Linked DNA regions of Homo sapiens: all the other regions are linked to region 5. Evidence: promoter capture Hi-C in 16 types of primary human blood cells and fetal thymus (Javierre and others, 2016). All regions are on one chromosome and are shown on one strand. Each heading gives the region's core, a stretch centred on a gene start or on the middle of the fragment in contact. The rest is flanking DNA. Distances are from core to core; before and after follow the strand shown. Region 1 overlaps TTC7B (tetratricopeptide repeat domain 7B). Region 2 overlaps TTC7B (tetratricopeptide repeat domain 7B). Region 3 overlaps TTC7B (tetratricopeptide repeat domain 7B). Region 4 overlaps TTC7B (tetratricopeptide repeat domain 7B). Region 5 holds the start of NRDE2 (NRDE-2, necessary for RNA interference, domain containing). Region 6 overlaps TTC7B (tetratricopeptide repeat domain 7B). Region 7 holds the start of LINC02321 (long intergenic non-protein coding RNA 2321).

Region 1 (2,910 bases), core at 220-2,719, 430 kb before region 5:
TGTAGTTGCCTTTGAATGCTCTAGTCTTGAATGTCTGGCCCTCAAAAGGGAGAAAGAGAAAAATGAGGCTGGGGGAAAGGGCACTGGCCCTTTAAATCCTCTGGATGTCACTTCTGTTGGTGTATGTGGGGTGGCTTGCAATAATGAAGGGAGGTGCAGCAACAATGGCTACTGCCTCTTTTCTGCACCCCTGTGATCAGAAGCAGCAGTCAGTGATCAGAACACAGATACCCAATATTTGGAGGACAGGGTGCTCTTTGCCCACCCTAGCTCCTGCAAGCTTTATATTTGCTTCTCTAGGAATGTGTTCACAGCTTCTACTATGCTAAAAGCTGAAATTAACTGCAATTTACCATCAAGCTTTCCCCTGGAAATTGTAAGCCTTCAAGAGACCCTGGAGTTCCAAAATAGTTATATTGAACAGATTGTGCCAGTACAATAGTTGTCTATGTGGGAAGATAGATTCCTGGTGCTTCATAGTCCACCATCTTCCCGGAATTCTGTTTATAGCTTTTTAAATAACAGATTTATTGATATATAACTCATATACCATACAATTCAACCCTTTAAAGTGTACAATTCAGTGGGTTTTAGTATATTCAGAGTTGTGCAACCATCACCACAATCAATTTCAGAAAATTTTTATTACTCCAAAAAAGAAACCTTTACCCATTAGCAGTCACTTCCCATTTCCTGAACCCCCACCCCAACTCTATAGCCCTAGTCAACCACTAATCTATACCCTGTCTCTATAGATTTGCCTAGTCTAGAAATTTTGTATAAATGAAATCATGCACTTGACTTTTTGTATCTGGCTTCTTTTCATTTAGCATAAAGTTTTAAAGGTCCTTATATGTTGCTGCATGTGTCATTTCTTTTTGTGACTGAATATTACATTGTATGGATATACCATTTTGCATATTTTGTTAATCCATTCATCAGTTGGTGGACAGCAGGTTATTTCTATTATTTGACTATTATTAATAATGCTGCTATGAACATTTGTGTACAGGTTTTTTGGTGAACATAATCCCATCCAAAACATTTTGGGTTTTCATTTATCTTGGATGTATACTTAGGGGTGGGATTATTGGATTACATGGTAACTCTGAGTGTAAGTTTTTGAGGAACTGCAAGCTGTTTTCCAAAGCAGCTCACCTGCATGAAGGTTCTAATTTCTTCACATCCTCATCAACACTTGTTGTTATCTGTCTTTTTGATTATAGCCATCCTAGAGTGTATGAAATGGTATCTCATTGTGGTTTTTATTTGCATTTCCCTAATGATAAGTGGTATTAAGCAATTTTTCATGTGCTTATTGGCCATTTGTATATCTTCTTTGGAGAAATATCTATTCAGATTCTTTGCCCATTTTTAATTGGGTTATTTGTCTTTCCATTATTGAGTTGTAGTAGTTCTTTATATATCCTAAATATAATTTCTTTTACAGATATATGGTTTGTAAATATTTTCTACAATTTTGTGGGTTGTCTTTCACTTTCTAAGTGATGTCCTTTGAAATGCAAACATTTTTCATTTTGATTAAGTCCAGTTCATTTTTTTTTCTTTTATTATTTTTGTTGTTTTGGTTTTGTATCTAAGAAACCATTGCCTAGTCAAGTTTATGAAGATTTACTCTTGTGATTTCTTCTATGAGTTTTATAGTTTTTACTCTTAAATTTAGGTGTCTGATCCATTTTGAGTTAATTTTTGTATATTTTTGTGAGGTCAGCATCCAACTTCATTCTTTTTGTATGTGGATCTTCAGTTGTTTCAGCCCAATTTTTTGAAAATACTGTTCTTTCTCCATTGAATTGTCTTGGCATCCTTGTTGAAAATTAGTTGAGCATATATGTAAGTGTTTATTTCTGGACTCTCTGTCTGTACCACTGGTCTGTATGTCTGTGCTTATGCCAGTACCACACTGTCTTTATTACTGTAGCTTTGTAGTAAGTTTTGAGTTTGGGGAGTGTGTTTTCTAACTTTGTTCTTCTTTTACAAGATTTTTTTGGCTTACATTTCATATAAATTTTAGGGTCAGGTTGTAAATTAGTGTAAGAAATAATTCTTGGTAGGGATTGTGTTGAATCTGTAGATTGATTTGGGAAGTATTGCTTTCTTAACAATATCAGGTCTTCCAATCCATGAACATGGGATATCTTCTTTAATTTCTTTCAAAAATGTTTTGTAGATTTTTTTGGCATTCAAGTCTTACATTCCTTTTGTTAAATTTATTCTAAGAGTTCTTTTTTATGTTATTATAAGTGAAACTATTTTTTAAATTTCAGATTGCTCATTACTAAGGTATAGAAATACAGCTCATTTTTGTTTATTAATCTTGTATCCTTTAACCCTGCTGAGCTCATTTATTAGCTATTATATTGTTTTTGTGGATTCTTTAGGGCTTTAAAATATGTAAGATCATGGCATTTGCAAATAAAGATAATTTTACATTTTCCTTTCCAATCTGGATGACTTTGTTGCTTTGTATTGCCTAATTGTGCTGGATAGTATCTCCAGTACAATGTTGATTAGAAATGACCAGAGTGGACATCCTTATTTTAGGGGGAAAGCTTTCAGTTTTTCACCACTAAGATGTTAGCAGTGGCGTTTTCATAGATAGCCTTTATCAACTTGAAGAAGCTCTTTTCTATTTCTAGTTTGTTGAGTGTTTTTATCATTATAGGGTTTAGACACTGTCTAATTTTTTTATTGCATTGTTCGTGTAATTTTTGTGCTTTATTTTTTAAATATTGCATTTTACGTTGAATGATTTTCATATATTAAACCAACCTTGCATTCCTGAATTAAATCCCATTTGGTCATGGTATATGATTTTTTAATGCATTGCTAGGTTCCATATGCTAATATTTTGTAGGGGATTTTAATACCTATATTCATAATAGATAT
Region 2 (3,096 bases), core at 34-2,533, 350 kb before region 5:
CACTGTCTAAACTCCTTTGTAGGTCTCGGCGGAAAAGGTAATTATCATGGAATATTGAGTGTAGATCTGAACCTCCTGGTTTCCAGTTTTTGGTAAGGATGGGAATGCTGTTTAAAATGGAAAATGGAGGGGTCTTGGCCGGGGAGGGCAGAACATCCCGAGCCAGGCACTGGCCAGGCCCTTCCGTGGACACAATAAATCCTCAAGAGCTTGCAAAAATAAATAAATAAAATAAAATGGAAAGCAGAGGGATGTTGAAGGGTCAGGATGACTTCTTGATGGCCGAACCAAAGCTGTGTAAACGACCAGCTACACCGTTGGCTGCCTGTCATCTCCTTGCCTCTGGTGTACACAGCCCACCTTGGAGTTGTGGAGAGGCCCGTCCTCTCAGCAGGAACATGGAAACACTTGTGCAAGGTGATGTTCTATGTGGGATTCACCTGACCCACTCAGCAGAGTGTAGCCCAGTGGACCTGCACTGGGCTGCGTGAGGGACCCTTCTTTCTTTGTCATGGGGAGATTTTTGACCTATATGAATTGACACAAAATGGAAGCGTGGTGAGGCCTCGATAGTCCTTACATCAGACTAGCTGATCCCTAATAATCAAGATGCACTCTTAATTTTCAATTTAAGTCCTATTCCTTTTTTGATACCCATTTATCCACATAAACCTGGGATCGACAGTAGATTCTGCCTTGGCATGTTTGCAGACAGTGTGACTTGGGGTCGGGGTGGGACTTCAGCCATTCTTGGCCTCCATGCCTCAGCTCTTACCTGGCTGGCTGTGGTTCAGAGGCTGTGTTTCTCCAGGAATTTCCTGGTAGTATCTCAGCCAGACATATTAAAATTATAAAGGAACCATTACTAGACCTTAGAGTTGATGTTGTCATTATTTACAAATCAACTTTCTCGTGGGTTGGCAGTGTTCAAGGCCCTCCCTGCACCTAAATAGAGAATTTTAGGGGATGCCGGTGACCTTTAGACCTCAACTTGTCATTAGTTATATAATGGCTAACGATGACAGAAGAGATGAAATGCAGTTGGGTAAAGTTGGATTAATTTCTTTTGTATGATTGTGTCTACCATTAAGGTAAAGTTTCTACCTTTCGGAGGAAATTTTTAAGAAAAAGCTATTATGTGGGAGCCCTGGCAAGATGATGATTACTACTTATACCTGAGAATTCTCACCCTTGTTCCCTATGTCTTCTGTAGAATCAGAAAATGAGTTGGTAAATTCATCCAAAGTAAGAAAATGGGCAGTTTGCCTAAAGGTCACCCAGTGAGTTGGTGGCATGGCTGGGACGAGGACGCACCCTCCCATTCTCAGCGCAGCAGCTGCCCCACTGCCGCCTCCTTTGCCAGCCTGCCAGCTCTTGGGAGCTTGTCCTCATGCCTGCTGAGCCCTGTTTTCTTCTTGTCCCCTTTCGTCCCCCACCTTCCCCTTCACGCAACTTCCTCTGGATCTAGGGCCCCAGTTTTCCCACTCTTCAAGGCTGAGGCCTGGGTACCCCAGTATCTCCCCCTGAGGCTCGTGGGCCCCAAAGAGGAGAAGGCCACAAAAGGAAGGCCCCAACAGTTTTGACCCGTTCACCCTGAGCTCCATCCATGCTTCCCTGAGCAAACAAGAGGGAAGGAATTGGCCGGAAATGGGTCTAGAGAATTCATAATGATTGAGAGGGAGCCTTCTAATGTGTAGTTGTTTAGGTATGTCTCTTAAAACTACCTTTTCTCCCCCGGCTCCTGCTGGCCTTGGGAGCTTTGCAGTGCTCCTGAGTACCCACCTTGCCTGCCACAAATAGGGAGGGTAGAGGAAGTGGAGCTGGATTCGGTTAATGTGCCACTTGTTAGCAACTATGGTAAAAATAACACAAACTAGCATTTAAGCAGGCTGGATGGCTCAAACAGAATTTGGAGATTAGCCATGGACTGAATTGACTGCTGTTAAGTCACAATTAGCATAGGCTGTCTGTCTTTTCAATTGGTCTGGATAATGCAGAACCGGCTAGCCATGAAAAAAAAAATGATTCATGTTACTGCTTTATTTGCAAGATCCTAGTTGCATGTAACCACAAGCCAGGATATCAGGAAATGATTGCTGGGCATGGGTGTGCACATATGGGTGTGTGCGTGCACACATACACACAATGGTTCATGTTACTGCTTTATTTGCAAGGTCCCAATTGCATGTAACCACAAGCCAGGATATCAGGAAATGATTGTGGGGCACGAGTGTGCATGTACATGCACACACACATACACACACACACAACAACAACAACAACATACTGAGGTGGTTGTTTGGGAGACACTTAATTCAGAGCCTTTAGGCTCTATTCCAGAATCTAAGGGGAAAGAAGTGTCCCATCTGAAAAACCCAGATCATCTCAAGCTGACTTCTGAAGCAAGTCACTGCACATCCCCGAATCTTGCTCCTCATTCTCAGGCCAGCCTTTTCATAAAATTTTAGCCTCAGAAGAATGATAGAAACCATCCTGCAGGTGGCTTCCTTACCTCCAGCGGTATCAGCATTGTAACGAGAATACCAGGCGCTGCATTCCTCCTGTCTTGCTCTTTATCATCCTAAGATGCAGTACAAAAATTGCCAGCACTTCAAAGAAAACAAATGTTTGTAATTATGTGGAAATCCTTTTTTTTTTTTGCCTTTTATTGGGGGTGTGGGGAAATCCCTTCAATTACATGATTGTAATATTATCCCTGGGAAGACATAAACTTAGTTGTTTTTAGTCATCTTCAAGATATCTAGGAGTTTTTTTTAAACCAAGTTCATTTTTATTTATTGCACTCTCTTCGTCCATTTCATGAAAAAATATTGAGTTTGACCCAATTGGTGATAACATTCACAATTCTGCTCAAAGGATTCTAGAGCTTTAGAACAGGAGAAAAAATGCTGCAATTGCTCACAACACAGAAAATAGGCTATAGAGAATACAGATTGGGGTTCTGCTGACTTTTTATTATTCTCTAATCCTGAGCAACATTGAGCTTAAAAAGCTCTTTCTTTTAATCCAAGATTTAGGAGTTCAGCCAAATTCCATAAAATAGATTAATAAGAGCTCTTGCATGCTACCCCATAA
Region 3 (2,944 bases), core at 153-2,652, 410 kb before region 5:
GTTCAGTGTTTGTGAAGCATTTTAGCATCCTCTGAGCAGAAATGACAGTGTGCATCTGTTCATACCTTCAGCACCCTGAAGCTGGCCAGCCACCCCTGTCTTCCTAATAAAATGGGTTGAGCTTCATTTGTACTTGTATGGACTCTGTGCCAAGACCTGTTCATCTGGGGCTTGGGAGGCCTTACCTTGACAGATATGGCAAAGGTGCTGGGGACGTGGACCGAAGTAGACCGAGCTGAGTACATCGGGTATCCCCGGAGACCATCAGGGATGGTCTCAGCCTTCAGTGCTTCGCCTGTGGTGTGGGTGATGGAAACGAGCAGCTGACAAGAGGGCCTCTGAGCAGAGAACGAGTGAGCTCGGGGTTCTAAGCTCGCAGCCTCAGACAGAGGAGGTTGGAGGCTGGAGGCTGGATGGGGCCAGGGAGGTGGAGGCAACATGCCTGTTTCAGATTCTCATCTTTGGGTTCTACTCTTTACTAAGTTTCTTCACCTCTCAGCCTCGATTTTTTCCGTCCATAAAAAGAACATAATCATAGTTCCTACTTCATGAAGCTTTTGTGAGGATTACATAAGGTCTTGTGAATAAAGGCACTTAGCCCAGATTCGTGAACATATTGGATTCTTGGTAAATGTCACTTATTTTTATTAATAACAATAGCTCCTAGCAGTTGCTGTTGCTGGCAGTGTTTCCTGGAGTTCTCACCAAGGACACTGCTATTGACCCCTTCAGACCCAGAGATGTACCCTACAAGAGTGTTTGAAATGATTAGAAATCCTATGAGACTTTGAAAATGATTGGAGGTCTTGTTTTCCAGCAATTTTCTGGGCTCCTTGTTTTTGTAAAGATTAGAATAGAGAGAGACTGCCAAAGTCTCCCTAGCTTTTGTTACTTTATAAATGAACAGACAGGAAGTAACTTTTTTTCATAAATCATATTGTCATGTGTTGGTGCATATGATATGCATCAGAATTGCCTTTTTAGGAGGCAGGGAGATTAGAGTGAGAATCACAGCAGGAGAGGTGGAGAGAGTGATGGGAATAACATTTGACCTGGCCTCAACCAGAATGGATTATAAGCCATGGTTTAAGATATCTGGGAATTCAGGAAGATACATGTCTGTCTTGCCAGAATTATGTTCTATCAGAAGGTTGCTATGAGAAGAGAATTTGTTGTTGTTATTCAGAATTTACGATATGATCTTTAAAGGAATGATCATCCAGGCTCCTTTAAAAACCTCCATTATTTCCACTGTCTGCCTCCTTGATGGACCGTGCTTGGCAGTCGAGAAGTCTGCTTATCCCATCTGAGTTGTTCCAGCTGACTACACAGCCCTGGCCACTTAGGGCCCTATCTTGCTGCTTACTCTCCACTGTTGTCCAGCCCTGTCACTTTGGAGCCGTCTTCTCCCGGCTGGGAGAAAGGAGGCTCATGTGTTACATGTGTCTGTAGTGATGTAGGAATTGGTAGATCTGAATACACTTCTGTTATGTTCACTCACAACACCCCATTCAGTGCTGGGTTCTTCAGCAGGAACATCAAGGAGGCTTGTATAGTCGTAGGATTTAAAAGAAATCCTTTTCTTTGATTTTGGGGAAATGGTGATCATAAGATGTTGGATTTTGAGAAGAAACTTGAGGTCTAGAAAGGGAGAGCCCAGGCACACAGAAAGTTAGGCCAAAACTAGTTTTAGAACTCCACTCACACGACACCTAGCTTAGTGCTGGCTCACTTTATTCTCCCAGGCTGCTGCAAACAAAGAAAAAGCATGACATTTCTCCACACTCTTACTTAGAGAAAGTGCTCAATAAGGCTGGGTGTGATGGCTCATGCCTGTAATCCCAGCACTTTGAGAGGCCGAGACAGGAGGATCACCTGAGGCCAGAAGTTTAAGATCAGCCTGGTCAACAGAGTGAGACCTTGTCTCTACAAATGAAGAAAGAAAGGAAGAGAGAAAGAGAGAGAGAGAGAAAGAGAAAGAGAAAGGAGGGAGGGAGGAAGGGAGGGAAGGAGAGAGAGAGAAACAAAAGAAAAAAAAGAAAGAAAGGAAGAAAGAAAGAAGCGAACGAAACGAAATGAAACGAAACTAGCTAGGCATGGTGGCAAGTGCCTGTAGTCCCAGCTACTTGGGAGGCTTAGGTGGGAGGATTGCTTGAGCCCAGAAGTTCGAGGTTGCAGTGAGCTATGATTGTACCACTGCACTTAAAAAAAAAAGTCAATAAATATGTTTTATTTGACCAAGTAAGCTTTAGCTTTTGGTAGCATTTGGGAAGCAGCTTCTTTAGCCTAAGGTTAAATCTCAGCGTAGGTACACGATTTTCAAATTTCTGGCTCTGATTTTCAAATTTCTGGCTCTGGCGTTTTCTTTTTTGGAAAACCAGTTTGGACCTCCCCAGATTTCAGCAAGCTGAGATATTAGCAATGAGAGAGATTGAATGAACCCAACATCTGTTTTGACTGTAGTAAGTACTCAAGAAACTAACTGTTGATTAAGCAGAAGGCTAGCGAGGAGAATAACCTTCCTTAGGTGACCAATGGGCTTGGTGGAAAGTTTGCAGGTTTTTATGTGGCAAGATAGTTGTGTGTTATGCAAGAGATACTTGATTGGCCTTTTTCTTTTTTTAAATGTTGAACTTAATTGACTTAATTTTGAACTCAGTAAGAATTATGTTGAATTGAAAACAGAAAAGGGGATGGAATCTGATCAAAGCCTTGAGCAATCCAAGGCAAATAGGGCTTTATTTTGGGATCAGCCCTGCCAGGTAGGAAATCACACACGCTGTTCCTGTTTGCTCCGCTGGGCAGAGGTGGCCTCTCCATGGTGCCCTGTCACTTCCCCGCCATTCTGTAGTGAAGAAACTTCTGCTCGCTGGGGCCTGTGGGCCTTTTATTTATTAGTCCTGGCGTTTAACTTTATTCACTAGCAAGAGTAAAATTTGGGGAG
Region 4 (2,818 bases), core at 12-2,511, 390 kb before region 5:
GTACTAGTATATGTTGGCCAATATAAGAGACATAGTCCAGGCTCTCAGGGAGGAGACAGTCTAGTGAGGGAGACAGATAATATGTAAGTACTGGTCATATATAATTACAAATTGGAATAGGTGCTAGGAAGTGAATGGGTGCAGTGAAAGCAAATAACAGAAGGCCCCTGCTTAGATAGGGTGGCCTGGCCAGGTCTCCGGAGGAGGTGACATTGAGATGAGACCAAGACTTGCAGGGTGAGAAGGAACTAACCAGGTCAAGCACAGGGGAAAGAGAGCTCCAAGGAGTGGGTGCAAAATGTGCAGAGGTCTTGACCCGGGAAAGAGCTTGGAGTGTTCAAGAATCAGAAAGGAGTCCAATGTAGTAGAAGCATTGGAAGGAGGAGGGTCACAAACTGTCTCAGTCTGGCTTACCCAGAAGAAGGAAGGTCCACTGTGCAGCATATAGTGGGAGAGTGATGGTTGTCCAAAGAAAAGTCCCTGAGTCACCAGGACAAAGGGTAGGTGATACTAGGTGGTGAAGACATTAGATGTGTATCTTAGAGATAACAAAGGGTATAGAGACCAAGAGAAGTGGATGCATTTGAGATGTCTGTTAGAACTACTAGAGTTAGGACTGCTGGTGGATTGGATTTGGGGGACAGAGGGTAAGGGAAATGGAGGAACCAGAGATGACTCCCCAGTTTCAGCCTTGAACCATTGGTTAGATGCGTGGAGACAAGGAGAGGATCAGATCTGGAAAAGGAGAAATCAAGAATTTGCCTTTGGCATGTTAGGTTTAAGATGCCTGTGAGATGTCTAAGTGGAAGTGTCAACATGACCAGAAGACGGGTTTGACTTGAGTTATAAATGGGGAATTTCAGCATATTGATTATATTTAAGGCCACAGGATTGAATGAGATCAGTGAAGGGGCAGAGAGTAAAGAGAGAAGACAGCCCAGGACTTGGCCTGAAGACCTGCAAGAGTTGGAAGTTGAGTAAAGGAGGAGGATCCTGTGAAGGAACTGCCAGAGGTGGAAGGGAAATCGTGAGGGTGTGTCCTTGTGAAAGCCAAAACGGGAACCTGTGCTAGGAAAGAGGAAGTGGTCACCTGTGCTGAATGCTGCTTAGATGTTAATAAAGAAGACCAAATTGTGACCCCTGGATCAGATACCATGGAAGACATCTGTGACCCTGAACAAACTTGGTGGAGTGGTAAGAGCAGAAGCTGGACAGGGGAAGTTGAGGAGCAGATGATACAGGATGAATTGCAGCTCTGTATACAGGCCACTTCCTAGAAATGTTCTTCCCCTTCCATTTTCTTTTCTAAGGTGGAGTTCATGCTGGAAGGACCGATGGCAGAATGATGGTGGAAGATTAAACAGCAGGCTAAGGAATAGGGAATTCATTCTCTAGGTGTGGAGAAGCCATTGGATCTGGAAGGTGGGGTTTTGGGAAGGGTCAAGAACAGGGTAGTTCATTTGGCCACCAGGAATCTAGTGCCACCAGAGCCACGTCCCCCATTTTAGTAGGATCAGGTTCATTTTACTTGGTTTTTGGCCACAGGCTACATTTTAACCTCAGCAGGAACCATACTAGGAAGGTGGGGATGATGGAGGGAGGGATAGAGCCGGGAGGGACAGAGCCAGGAGGGAGTCTGTGTGAGAGCTGCTTTAACAGCTTCAGAATGGAAGTTGATGGAGTAGCGTGAGATATAGGGCGCCTTCCTGCAGCCTGGCCAGCTAAGGCCAACTTGGGGATGCCACATGTCGCCTGGGCACTCACATGTCTGGAAGACTTGACTCACCTAGATCGCTGTTCCACGCTCTTCATATGAGTCATTTCACTTTGAAGGGAGATCTTCGTAATAGTTGAACTGATGGTGCAGTTTCTATTCGGAAAATCCGGAAGCTCCAACAGCTGTTAGAGAGCATTTGTTTCCATCACTTCTCTTGATACATGAGATTCAGAGAAATCCTGTTCACTAATTATTCAACAAACATTGATGGAGACCCTTACTAGGTTACTTACTAGTGCCAAATACTGTTCTAAGTGAATGAGTCAGACCCAGTCGCTGGCTTTATGGAGTTTATGTATCATTGGGGAAACAGTTGATTAGCAAGGTAATATGATTTTCTTCAGGGTCACACAACTGACTAGGGCAGAGCTGGGACCTGTCCTCTTGCTCCTGTCTTCCAGTTCAGTCCTCTCATCAGTTGGGCCATACTGACCATGCCCTGTCAGTACCTTCTTGAAAATGGAGTCAGGAGCAGCATAGCAATATATTACACTTGAAAATTAAGGACCTTAAAAAGCTAGTCTATCGTCTTCTAATTGGTCTCACGTAATTAAAAAAATAAAGATAAAGCAAGTCTAGACGTAATTATGTATGAATAAAAAGCATCAGCCCGATCTTATCTGTTCTGTTTAAATGTGGGCTAGGTCTTGCTCATCCCTTAATGCCATCAAAACCTTAGTGTGGAAACAAAAGAATCTCTAACGATTTTAATTATGAAATTCCGAAACCCCTCTTTTCAGTGATGAATTGTGGAGACAGGTAATTACTTTCAGTGTACTTCACAAGTGCTAGCACTTAGTGAGGGTTAGAGATCTGATGCCGTCAGAAAGCTTCCTCAGCATTCAGCAAGATGGGTGCGTTTGTGTTGATCTCTCCTTGGTTTCAGCAGAAAAATGGGGTGGGTCATTCTAAGCTTCCAAAGTCGGGGAGGAGGTTAGTGATTGGCATTTAATTGTATCTCCCAAAGGCCCCTCCCTGCATGGTTTACCGGTGATATGCTGCCTCTTGGAAGGCAGGCTACAGTTCCTTTAATCACCACCA
Region 5 (3,184 bases), core at 1-2,500:
CCCAGGAGTTCGAGACCAGCCTGGGCAACATGGTGAAACCCTGTCTCTATTAAAAAAAAAAAAATTAAGCCAGACATGGTGGTGTATGCCTGTGGTTCCAGCCACTTGGGAGGCTGAGGTGAGGGGATTGCTTGAATCGAGGAGTTCGAAGCTGCAGTGAGCAGAGATCGTACCACTACACTCCAGCCTGGGTGGCAGAAGGAGACCTTGTCTCAAAATAAATAAATAAGGGTCACCTCAGTGACATAAGTACTTTAGTACATCTAACAGAATTCACAAGAATTACTTGTGAATTGCTTGTACTCTGCCTACCTTCTTATTTCTCCATCTATCTTAAAAAGGTCTTTTTACAGTTTGTCCAATCAGAATTATAATGAGGCCACAAATATGTTGTATTTGCTTGATGTGTCTGTAAGATCTTCGTATCTATTACAATCTCCTGCCCTCTTAAAGCCCTTGATATGTTAAGGAAGCACGGTTGTTTTCTATAATTTCCCATATTCTAGATTTGGCTAATTGTTTCTTGGTAGTACAAAGTCTTCTAAGTTGTTCCTTTACTCTCTATATTTCTGGTAGCAAGTGTGATTAGATTTTGGGTGGGAGGAACCGGGGTCAAGAATGCTTCACAGACAGGTATTTCCTAACTATCAAAGACCCTTGAACTTGATGGGACTTTCCATTTTTCCTTGTTCTGGGGTATTTAATATGGTAACCTGATTGAAGTTCGGATATCTCACATGACTTTGAGCCGAACTTGCAGTCGTAATTCACATAATAGCTAACACATATTAAGTGCTTTTCATGGGCCGGACTCAATGCTAGGCCCTTTATAAATATGTTCATTTAATCTTCTCAATATTTTGCAGATAAGGAAAGTAATGCTTAGAGCGTTTAAGTTGACCCAGTTAGCAAGGATGGTGTGAATTTAGGGGTCGAACTGGAATCCCAATTTCCTTAGTCCCTTTCGCGGTCAACAATTCCCTTCTCCGGTTTTCGCAGTTCCGGTTCTCACAGGGTCCCAACCACTAGGAACCCGTCACTCCTCGCTCCGCCCCCCTTGGCCCCGCCCCACCCTGCTTTGCCCTGCCTCTCCCTGCCCCGCCGCGCCCCAGTCCCTTGACGACCCTCCTCTCTGGGCCCCGCCCCTCCCGCTTCGGGGTCAAGCCCCAGAGAGCGCCGCGAAAACCACATTTCCCAGAGTGCACCGCGACGGCAGGGGTCCTCAGACCGGCGCTCGCTCGCCGGCGCCATCCCTATAGAGAAGAACGGAGGTACGGCCTGTGGTCATGGCGCTGTTCCCAGCCTTTGCGGGGCTTAGTGAGGCTCCCGATGGCGGGAGCTCCAGGAAAGGTAAGCACACAAACGAGCCGAAGAAGGCACCTGGGGGGCTTAAGAGGCTGTTTCTCGGGCCCAGGTCTAGACTTTTGCTTTGGATTTGTGTATCCATTTGTATCCCAGAGTTCTCCGCGGCGCTGCAAAGCCTTCTGGGAAAGGCTCAATCCCTCCGAGGTCTGGGGCCCAGAGGCCTGTTCTGGACCAAGGTTGTAGAGTTATGGAGGGGTGGAGAAAGACCAGCAGATGCCCTGGAGCTGGGACTTCTGTACGATGTTGTTAGGTCCTGTTCTTCTTTTCGAGCCTCAGTTACTTCATCTTTAAATTGGGAATAATGATACTCGACATCTCGAGGAAACCCTTGATGCAAATGCAGAATGTTTTTATTACATATTACTTCCTTTCCTGTTATACTTATTTCTGAAATGCTTATTAGATTGGTATTACTTAGCGGCCTAGAGCTAGGGGATTAGTATCCAAAACCTAATCAGTTTCTCTCTGGAGGGGCACAGCACCCAGTGAAAATAACTAACATTTATTCTTGAGGGCCTAGTGTGTATCAGGTTATGGCTTTACACATTTTACTTAAGTCCCAGACATTTCCAGCAGAGCTGCATTGTTCAAAATTGGGGTACATAGTTCATTTAAGAAGTAATTAATCCTGGCCAGGAGCAGTGGCCCACACCTGTAGGTGGAAGGATAGTTTGAGCCCGGGAGTTCATGACCATCATGATCAACATAGCGAGACTCCTGTCTCTTAAAAAAAAAGCCAGGCGTGGTGGTGCACACCTATAGTATCAGCTCCTCAGGAGGCTGAGGTAGGAGGATTGCTTGAGCCCAGAAGTTTGAGGCCGCAGTGAGCCATGATCGTGCCGCTGCATCCTGCCCTGGGGTGGGGGGACCTTGTCTCTAAAAAAAAAAGAAAAAAAAGTAATTCTAAATTATGTGCCATATGTGACAGGGCGCAATTGAGTCTTACCTGTCTGTTATATCCTCTAATATAGTTCCTACACTTTCTGTAACGTTTCTCCTAATTTTTTTTTTTTTTTTTGAGACAGGGTCTCACTCTGTTGCCCAGGCTGGAGTACAGTGGCACTGTCATAACTCACTGCCGCCTCAGACTCCTGGGCTTAACTTCCTGCCTCAGCCTCATGAATAGCTGGAACTACTGGTGTGCACCACCAGGCCTGGCTAATTTTTTTTAATATTTAGTAGAGACGAGGTCTCACTGTGTTGACCAGGCTGGTCTCGAACTCCTGAGCTCAAGCGATTCTCTATCTGAGCCTCCCAAAGTTCTAGGATTACAGGCATGAGCCACTGCGCTTGTCCTATTTCTCATAATTGTGAGTAATTTCTTGTGTAAAATTGTTGTCTTCCCTTACTAGACTGTAATCTCTATCAGGTTGGGCAGTGTTTGTCTATTCATTGTAGCATAGTTAGCCCCTAGCACAGGTCCAAAGTATAATAGGTGTTCAATAAATATTTTCTGGATGTACAGATCGATAGTAGTTACTTAATAATTACGTGTTGCAGGAATGCATGAGTGCACCTAAAAGAAGTGTATAGTACAAGGTGGGATATTACAGATACCATAGGTGAACTGCAGGATTAATTACTTCTTTTTATTTATTTATTTATTTATTTTTTTTTTTGAGACCAAGTCTTGCTCTGTCGCCCAAGCTGGAGTGTAATTGTACGATCTTGGCTCACTGCAGCCTTCGCCTCCTGGGTTCAAGTGATTCTCCTGCCTCAGCCTCCCGAGTAGCTGGGACTACAGGCACTCACCACCATGCCCGGCTAATTTTTGTATTGTTAGTAGAGATGGGGTTTCACTGTTTTGGCCAGGCTGGTC
Region 6 (3,025 bases), core at 430-2,929, 370 kb before region 5:
GGCTGCTTTTGGCTTTTAGCCAGTAAATGTTTGTATGTGGAATGAAGGGCCGGATGGTGGGACGTAGCAGCTGGTTGGGGAAAGGCGGAGGATTCACGTGTTTTTGAGCATGGAGTCAGAAGCTTTCCAGGTGCCATCTCATTGCATATGGCAAGTAGGTGTTAGTCCTATTTTGCAGATGAGGAAGAGACAAGGTGAAGCCCGTTGGCCAGTCCTTCCCCATCTCAGTGCATGCCTGGCATCTGGTACTTGTTCCCCTTGCCATGTTCCCAGATGGCTCACATTCCATGCTCACTTCCAGTCCTTCTTCTCATGAGCCTCCTCAACCTTTGCCCTTTTTGTCTTCTCTCCCCAGCAGATTTGCCTTTCCCAGGCCCAAGCGGGTTATCTGGTCCCACTCCTGAGAATGTGTGACAATCCCATCGGCACTGTGCTGCCTCAAACTGAGCAGCACTGCTTTGTTTCCCCAAGAAAAATATCAGAGGCTTTTATTTACCAATTTAATGGCAAAGAGCCTCCCTTCCCTGTTGAGTTTCTATGTTATGGTTTTGAACTGGAGGCCTGTAGGCTTGCGACGCCTGTCGTCCCACAGTCTGTCTTCACCCACCTCTGCTACCTGCTTGGCTTCTGCAGCCATTTGGACTGCTGACCCCTGCACATGTAATGGTCTTTTTTTTTCCCTTTCTTTCAAATGATCCCCTTGGATTTTTTTCTCACTGTTCTAGCTTTGAAATGTGGTCGCCAGAGTTGTGTTGGAAATGCAGTTCTCCTGTCAATTGAATGGAAGTGAACGTTGCACTCTTATCCTCACACTCGAACTTCCAGCTCAAGTGCTTGTGGTGCGTTTGGAGGGACTTTCCTCCCCTTGACATCCTTTCTGCCTTTTTTTCCTCTCCATAGCCCAGTCGAGGGGATGGACAGGGTGGCCAGAAGTTCTTTTCCTATGTGACTTTGCCACTCAGAATTGATGAATGAAGTCATTTTGTTAGCAGGACATTTTTACCTTCCAGATTGTCTTTTTTCTGCACTTTTCTGGACTATTAAAAACGAATATTGTTGGCCTGTGCCCATCAGTGTTCTGTGCAGCTAATTGAGCCCCGTCTTATGAAGCAGGCTGACGGGGACCCCGCCCTCATGCTTGTCTTCCAGCTCTGGCCAGGTCTGGAGCAGACACTTCCCCAGTGGAAGTGGCGAGCTTTCCTCTCCAGCTTTGTGTTATGGGCTCATAAAGCTTTAGTGGTTCACTTTTGAGTTCAAATTTTTTAGTGTGATCTGGCCCTTCTTGATGAACTCAGAACAGTCTCCACACGCTCACTGTGCTAAGTGTGATGGAGCAGTCAGGATTCACACCTGCCAGACACGCGGTCATCTGTCCGTGCCCCACCCCAAAGCCGTGGCTGGAGACTGTTCCCCTGCCCCCGTCAGGGGCACCAGCACTCTTAGGAGATGTCACATCATTTCCCAGGAGGGTGACCACAAGGCCCCAGAGAAAGTTTTTTACTGTTCTTACCTGACATGGGTTGTCTTTTGTCATTGTGAGCCAGACCTGGGAATTACATAGGGAGTTCCTGGGACATGGTAGACTTTCAGTAAATAGCAAAGAGGATCAATGAATCAAACTGGGGAATATCTTTTTTCCTTCAAAATTAAATGACTTCAAAGAAGTAAAGCAGATTTTCATATGCTATAAATTGACTGGAAAACAGATTCCAGAATTCCAAAAGTTTTTTTTTTTTAAAACAATGATAGAGTTTTGAGGCTAACAGAAGTAATAATGGCAAATACTTAAAAAGCACTTCCTACATTTACTGACTAGTTTAATTCTTACAACAAATCAATGAGGTGGATACAGTTGTTACTGACTAGTTTAATTCTTACGACAGTGAGGTGGGTACAGTTACTCAATGAGGTGGGTACAGTTGTTACTGACTAGTTTAATTCTTACAACAGTGAGGTGGGTACAGTTACCCAATGAGGGCAATACAGTTGTTACTGACTAGTTTAATTCTTACAGCAGTGAGGTGGGTATGGTTAAATGAGGTGGGTACAGTTGTTATTTCCATTTTATAAGGAAACTGTGGCACAGGCACTTGCCCAAGGTCAACAATTAATAAATGGCAAAGCTTGGACTTGAACTCATGCTGTCCGGCTCCAGGGTCTGTAACCATGACTCTATTTTGTCTCTTTACATTCGGGTATATAGATAAACATATGGATTCCCGGGTGAAGGACAATCCTTATATGATAGATAAGTTCGGATTGGTTTGTTTTAAGTATTATTAGGTTGAGGAGTCCAAGTGTGTTTGGATACCATTAGGGTTAAACTGAACATCATTAAAATACAAGTTCATGAGGACTCACGTCTGCTGACTGGCTTACCATTGCGTTCACTGTGCCTCACTTCTTAGTGCATAGTAGGTATGAGTGTTCTCTCTCTCTCTTTCCATATATATATATATATATATATATACACACACACACACATATACATATATACACATATATACACACACACACAGATATATATGGAGAGAGAAATATATATTTGTGTGTGTGTATATATATATATATATATACGTTTCTTTTGGAATGAGTACTGATATTCTTTGACTCATTCCCAGAGGTTGAAAGGAAGGATGTGAGATGGGGCAAGGCTTTCTACACTTCCTGTTTCTCAGAGACTCGGAGCTTAGGGGAGTGGAGGGGACAGGTGAAGGGCAGGCGAGTTGCTCTTCTGGCTGGGCTGTCAGAGCAGTCTGGCCACTTTTCATTCTTAGGCCTTGTGCACGCCTGTTGGAAGGACTTGTTTATGTGTTCCTGTCCTGGCCCCTGAAGTATGAACTCCAAGAAGCCACTCTCTGTGACTTCTTTGACTTTATGTGTCTGGTGCCACTTACACTGCCTGGGCCGTAGTCCCTACTCCCTGTACTGTGTGCTGCCTGGCCGGCTGACCAAATGTATAATTGACTCTGCTTTTGTCACGAGGAAGCCTCAATTGCTGAGGTAGTCCAAAAAATGTTGTTAA
Region 7 (2,856 bases), core at 154-2,653, 500 kb before region 5:
ATAAGCGCTGGGAGGAAATAAGGAAAATCGAACCGCGGTTTTAGGTCCGGGCTCTGGCAGGCACCGCCTCCGCCCCGCCTCGCCCCGCCTCGCTCCGCCCTGCGGCCCCCGCCGCGGCCCCGCGAAGGATCCGCCAATGAAGCGCCCAGGAACTGCATGACCTCATCAGGAGGCTCCCTCATTGGCTGCCGCCGCCGCGCCTGGTCGCCTCGTTCCGTTCGATTCCAGAAAGCCGCGCCGGCCCCAGTCCCCATGGGCTGAAGGCAGGTTGAGTTCTTCCCCAGGTCTGCGAGCCTCGAAGGCTTCTTTCAGACAGCAGACCCCTTAGAAGCGCAAGGCTGCTTTCTGACAAAGAATCAAGTGTTCCTTTCAACCAGCCAAGGGACTGGTTTTCTCGCTGACCCTTTGACAGGTATGTTCCCGGGATTTTGCTGGGACCTTCATCTTCCCCTCCCTACGTCCGTGACACATCTGGCTTCCCACTCGTTTCAGTCGTGTATTCCGTGGAGTTTTCTCTTGCTTCGCAGTAGATGGACTTCTGAAGCCCCACCTTACTGTTAAATGCCAGTGATCATCTCCCCCCACAGCTAACTCGGGAATTAGTCCACTGACACCCCCAGAGAGGGGACACGCCTTTCACAAGGTCACACGGCAGGTCAGTTACAGAGATGAAAATCAAATCCAGGTTTCCTAACTTCAAGAGTTTTTTCAGATGCCTTATTATTATTATTCGTTTTATTTTTATTTTTCATTTTTTATTTTTTTGAGATGGAGTCTCACTCTGTCACCCAGGGTGGAGTGCAGTGGAGTGATCTTGGTTCACTGCAATCTCTGCTTCCCGGGTTTAAGCGATTCTTCTGCCTCAGCCTCCCGAGTAGCTGGGATTACAAGTGCCCACCACCACACCCGGCTAATTTTTGTATTTTTAATAGAGACGGGTTTCATCATGTTGGCCAGGCTGGTCTCGAACTCCTGACCTCAGGTGATCCACCCGCCTCGGCCTCCCAAAGTGCTTGGGACTACAGCTGTGAGCCATCTCACCTGGTAATTATTATTATTTTTTTTTTAATTTGCTTCCTGAGAGCTCAGAAAGGAACCTCAGCTGTATGGGAGCACCCATATACCAATCCCATTCCAGCCACTCTCACTTTGACAGGACAGAATCAACGACCAGAGCCCAGGACCTCCTTGACTAGCACTCTCCTCTTACAAATAAGGAAACTGAAGGGTACCTGATCATGAACAAGCTGATGGGCAGCACTTGACCCAGACCTTTTACTTCTTACCCCTCCACCCCAGTTTGGACTCCCAAATGTGGGGAGGAATGGAATGCCCTACCAGTCCCCAGGGAATGGTTCATGCAGTCAGCATGGTTTTAGTACCTTTAGCATTTGATTTGGGAGAAAGATAATAACCAGAAGTGTCTGTATGCCTCACCAGCTGTCCAGCAGATCCCATAAACCTTCACCCCCAACCCTTCTGACCACCAAGTGCTTTGCTGCAGGAAAGGAGACCAGATTGTTGGGTTTTTCTCATCTGATGGTCGGGGGTGATCTGGGACTGCATATGTCTGAATACTGGGACCCTATTTTGAGTGCAAGAGTTTTGAAAACCCAGGACCACTTTGTTAGATGGTGAGGGTTGGTGAGCAGACTGGACCTGAGATCCTTTTTCAAGGCTTGGCTTGGGGGCAACATTCTCCAGGAAGACTTACTGGAGCACCCACCACAGTTAATTCCTGGCGTTCCTCTGGGTCCGGCTGCAGAGCTGTTGCTCACTTCTTTCCCCCACTAGACTGTGAGTTCCTTGAGGGATGGGACCATACCCTACACAATATTGTATCACTAAGGCCTAACACTGTGTCCGGCACATAGTAGGTACTCAATAAACGTTTGTTGAATTGAACTGTGGAAACCTTGCACCCTATTGGCCTTGTGCAGGGGAAGATCACTCACAATTCCTCACTGAAGCAGATCCTGTGTCTATCAGGCTCCTTCACACAAAATGAGAATTAGTTTCTTTTTTTCACAGTAACGTGTCCGAAGTGCAAACTTCAAACCTGTTTGCTGATACAACTCCCCAGGAACAACCAGGTCCCTTGTGCCCACCTAGTTCGTGATTTCTCTTTAAAACTCCTGATGTCAGCTGGGCGTGGTGGCTCACACCTGTAATCCCAGCACTTTGGGAGGCTGAGGTGGACAGACCACTTGAGGTCGGGAGTTCGAGACCAGACTGGCCAACATGGTGAAATCCCGTCTCTACTAAAAATACAAAAATTAGGCAGGCGTGGTGGCATATGCCAGTAATCTCAGCTACTTGGGAAGGTAAGGGAGGAGGATCACTTGAACCCCAGAGGCAGAAGTTGCAGTGAGCCAAGATTGTGCCACTGCATTCCAGCCTGGGTGACAGAGCAAGACTTTAATCTCAAAAAACAAACAAACAAACAAACTCCTGATATGTGAATCAACAACATCATTTAAATCAAACCATTCTGCCAGGCGCAGTGGCTCACACCTGTAATCCCAGCACTTCGGGAGGCCGAGGTGGGCAGATCACCTGAGGTCAGGAGTTCAAGACCAGCCTAGCCAACATGGTGAAACCCTGTCTCTACTAAAAAATGCAAACATTAGCTGGGCATGGTGGCAGATTCCTGTAATCCCAGCTACTTGGGAGGCTGAGGCAGGGAGAATTGCTGGAACCCAGGAGGCGGAGGTTGCAGTGAGCTGAGATCAAGCCACTGCACTCCAACCTGGGTGACAGAGTGAGACTCCATCTAAAAAAAAAAAAAAATTAAATAAATAAAACCATTCCACGTGTTTTCTTCTGTGCCTGGTCTGCTAGGAAGCTCAGAAATCA

What was found. Contacts are between HindIII fragments. The CHiCAGO score rates a contact against its expected background, and 5 or more counts as called.
Region 1: a fragment that was not itself captured here is called in contact with the fragment with the promoter of NRDE2 in region 5 in 14 of 17 cell types (total CD8 T cells, total B cells, naive B cells and 11 more); the score reaches 9.7 in total CD8 T cells.
Region 2: a fragment that was not itself captured here is called in contact with the fragment with the promoter of NRDE2 in region 5 in 1 of 17 cell types (naive CD4 T cells); the score reaches 5.6 in naive CD4 T cells.
Region 3: a fragment that was not itself captured here is called in contact with the fragment with the promoter of NRDE2 in region 5 in 7 of 17 cell types (total CD8 T cells, endothelial precursors, naive CD8 T cells and 4 more); the score reaches 7.0 in total CD8 T cells.
Region 4: a contact is called between a fragment that was not itself captured here and the fragment with the promoter of NRDE2 in region 5, in 1 of 17 cell types (endothelial precursors). The highest score is 6.0, in endothelial precursors.
Region 6: a fragment that was not itself captured here is called in contact with the fragment with the promoter of NRDE2 in region 5 in 6 of 17 cell types (naive CD4 T cells, non-activated CD4 T cells, erythroblasts and 3 more); the score reaches 6.6 in naive CD4 T cells.
Region 7: a contact is called between a fragment that was not itself captured here and the fragment with the promoter of NRDE2 in region 5, in 2 of 17 cell types (total B cells and monocytes). The highest score is 6.0, in total B cells.

The regions. Positions count from the first base shown.
Region 1 is chr14:90,763,102-90,766,011 of GRCh38, reverse strand. The region is part of intron 3 of TTC7B (tetratricopeptide repeat domain 7B); the gene reads left to right. Among named protein-coding and RNA genes, the nearest start is that of TTC7B, 52 kb to the left of the region's middle. The HindIII fragment of the contact is 2,213 bases long and covers 363-2,575 here.
Region 2 is chr14:90,681,053-90,684,148 of GRCh38, reverse strand. The region is part of intron 7 of TTC7B (tetratricopeptide repeat domain 7B); the gene reads left to right. Among named protein-coding and RNA genes, the nearest start is that of TTC7B-AS2, 15 kb to the left of the region's middle. RefSeq lists an enhancer at 1,375-1,875. The HindIII fragment of the contact is 4,032 bases long and covers 1-3,096 here.
Region 3 is chr14:90,741,350-90,744,293 of GRCh38, reverse strand. All of the region lies in intron 4 of TTC7B (tetratricopeptide repeat domain 7B), which reads left to right. Among named protein-coding and RNA genes, the nearest start is that of TTC7B-AS2, 45 kb to the right of the region's middle. The HindIII fragment of the contact is 1,692 bases long and covers 557-2,248 here.
Region 4 is chr14:90,721,049-90,723,866 of GRCh38, reverse strand. The region is part of intron 5 of TTC7B (tetratricopeptide repeat domain 7B); the gene reads left to right. Among named protein-coding and RNA genes, the nearest start is that of TTC7B-AS2, 25 kb to the right of the region's middle. RefSeq lists an enhancer at 1,360-2,559. The HindIII fragment of the contact is 2,697 bases long and covers 1-2,609 here.
Region 5 is chr14:90,330,007-90,333,190 of GRCh38, reverse strand. It overlaps NRDE2 (NRDE-2, necessary for RNA interference, domain containing), which reads left to right and starts at 1,250. Exons shown (of 14, transcript NM_017970.4): 1 at 1,250-1,350. The coding sequence starts at 1,287. RefSeq lists a silencer at 1,017-1,166 and an enhancer at 1,317-1,496. The HindIII fragment of the contact is 5,093 bases long and covers 1-3,184 here.
Region 6 is chr14:90,701,242-90,704,266 of GRCh38, reverse strand. All of the region lies in intron 5 of TTC7B (tetratricopeptide repeat domain 7B), which reads left to right. Among named protein-coding and RNA genes, the nearest start is that of TTC7B-AS2, 5.4 kb to the right of the region's middle. The HindIII fragment of the contact is 892 bases long and covers 1,234-2,125 here.
Region 7 is chr14:90,825,545-90,828,400 of GRCh38, reverse strand. LINC02321 (long intergenic non-protein coding RNA 2321) reads left to right here and starts at 227. Exons shown (of 4, transcript NR_184259.1): 1 at 227-412. RefSeq lists a silencer at 1-196. The HindIII fragment of the contact is 3,534 bases long and covers 1-2,856 here.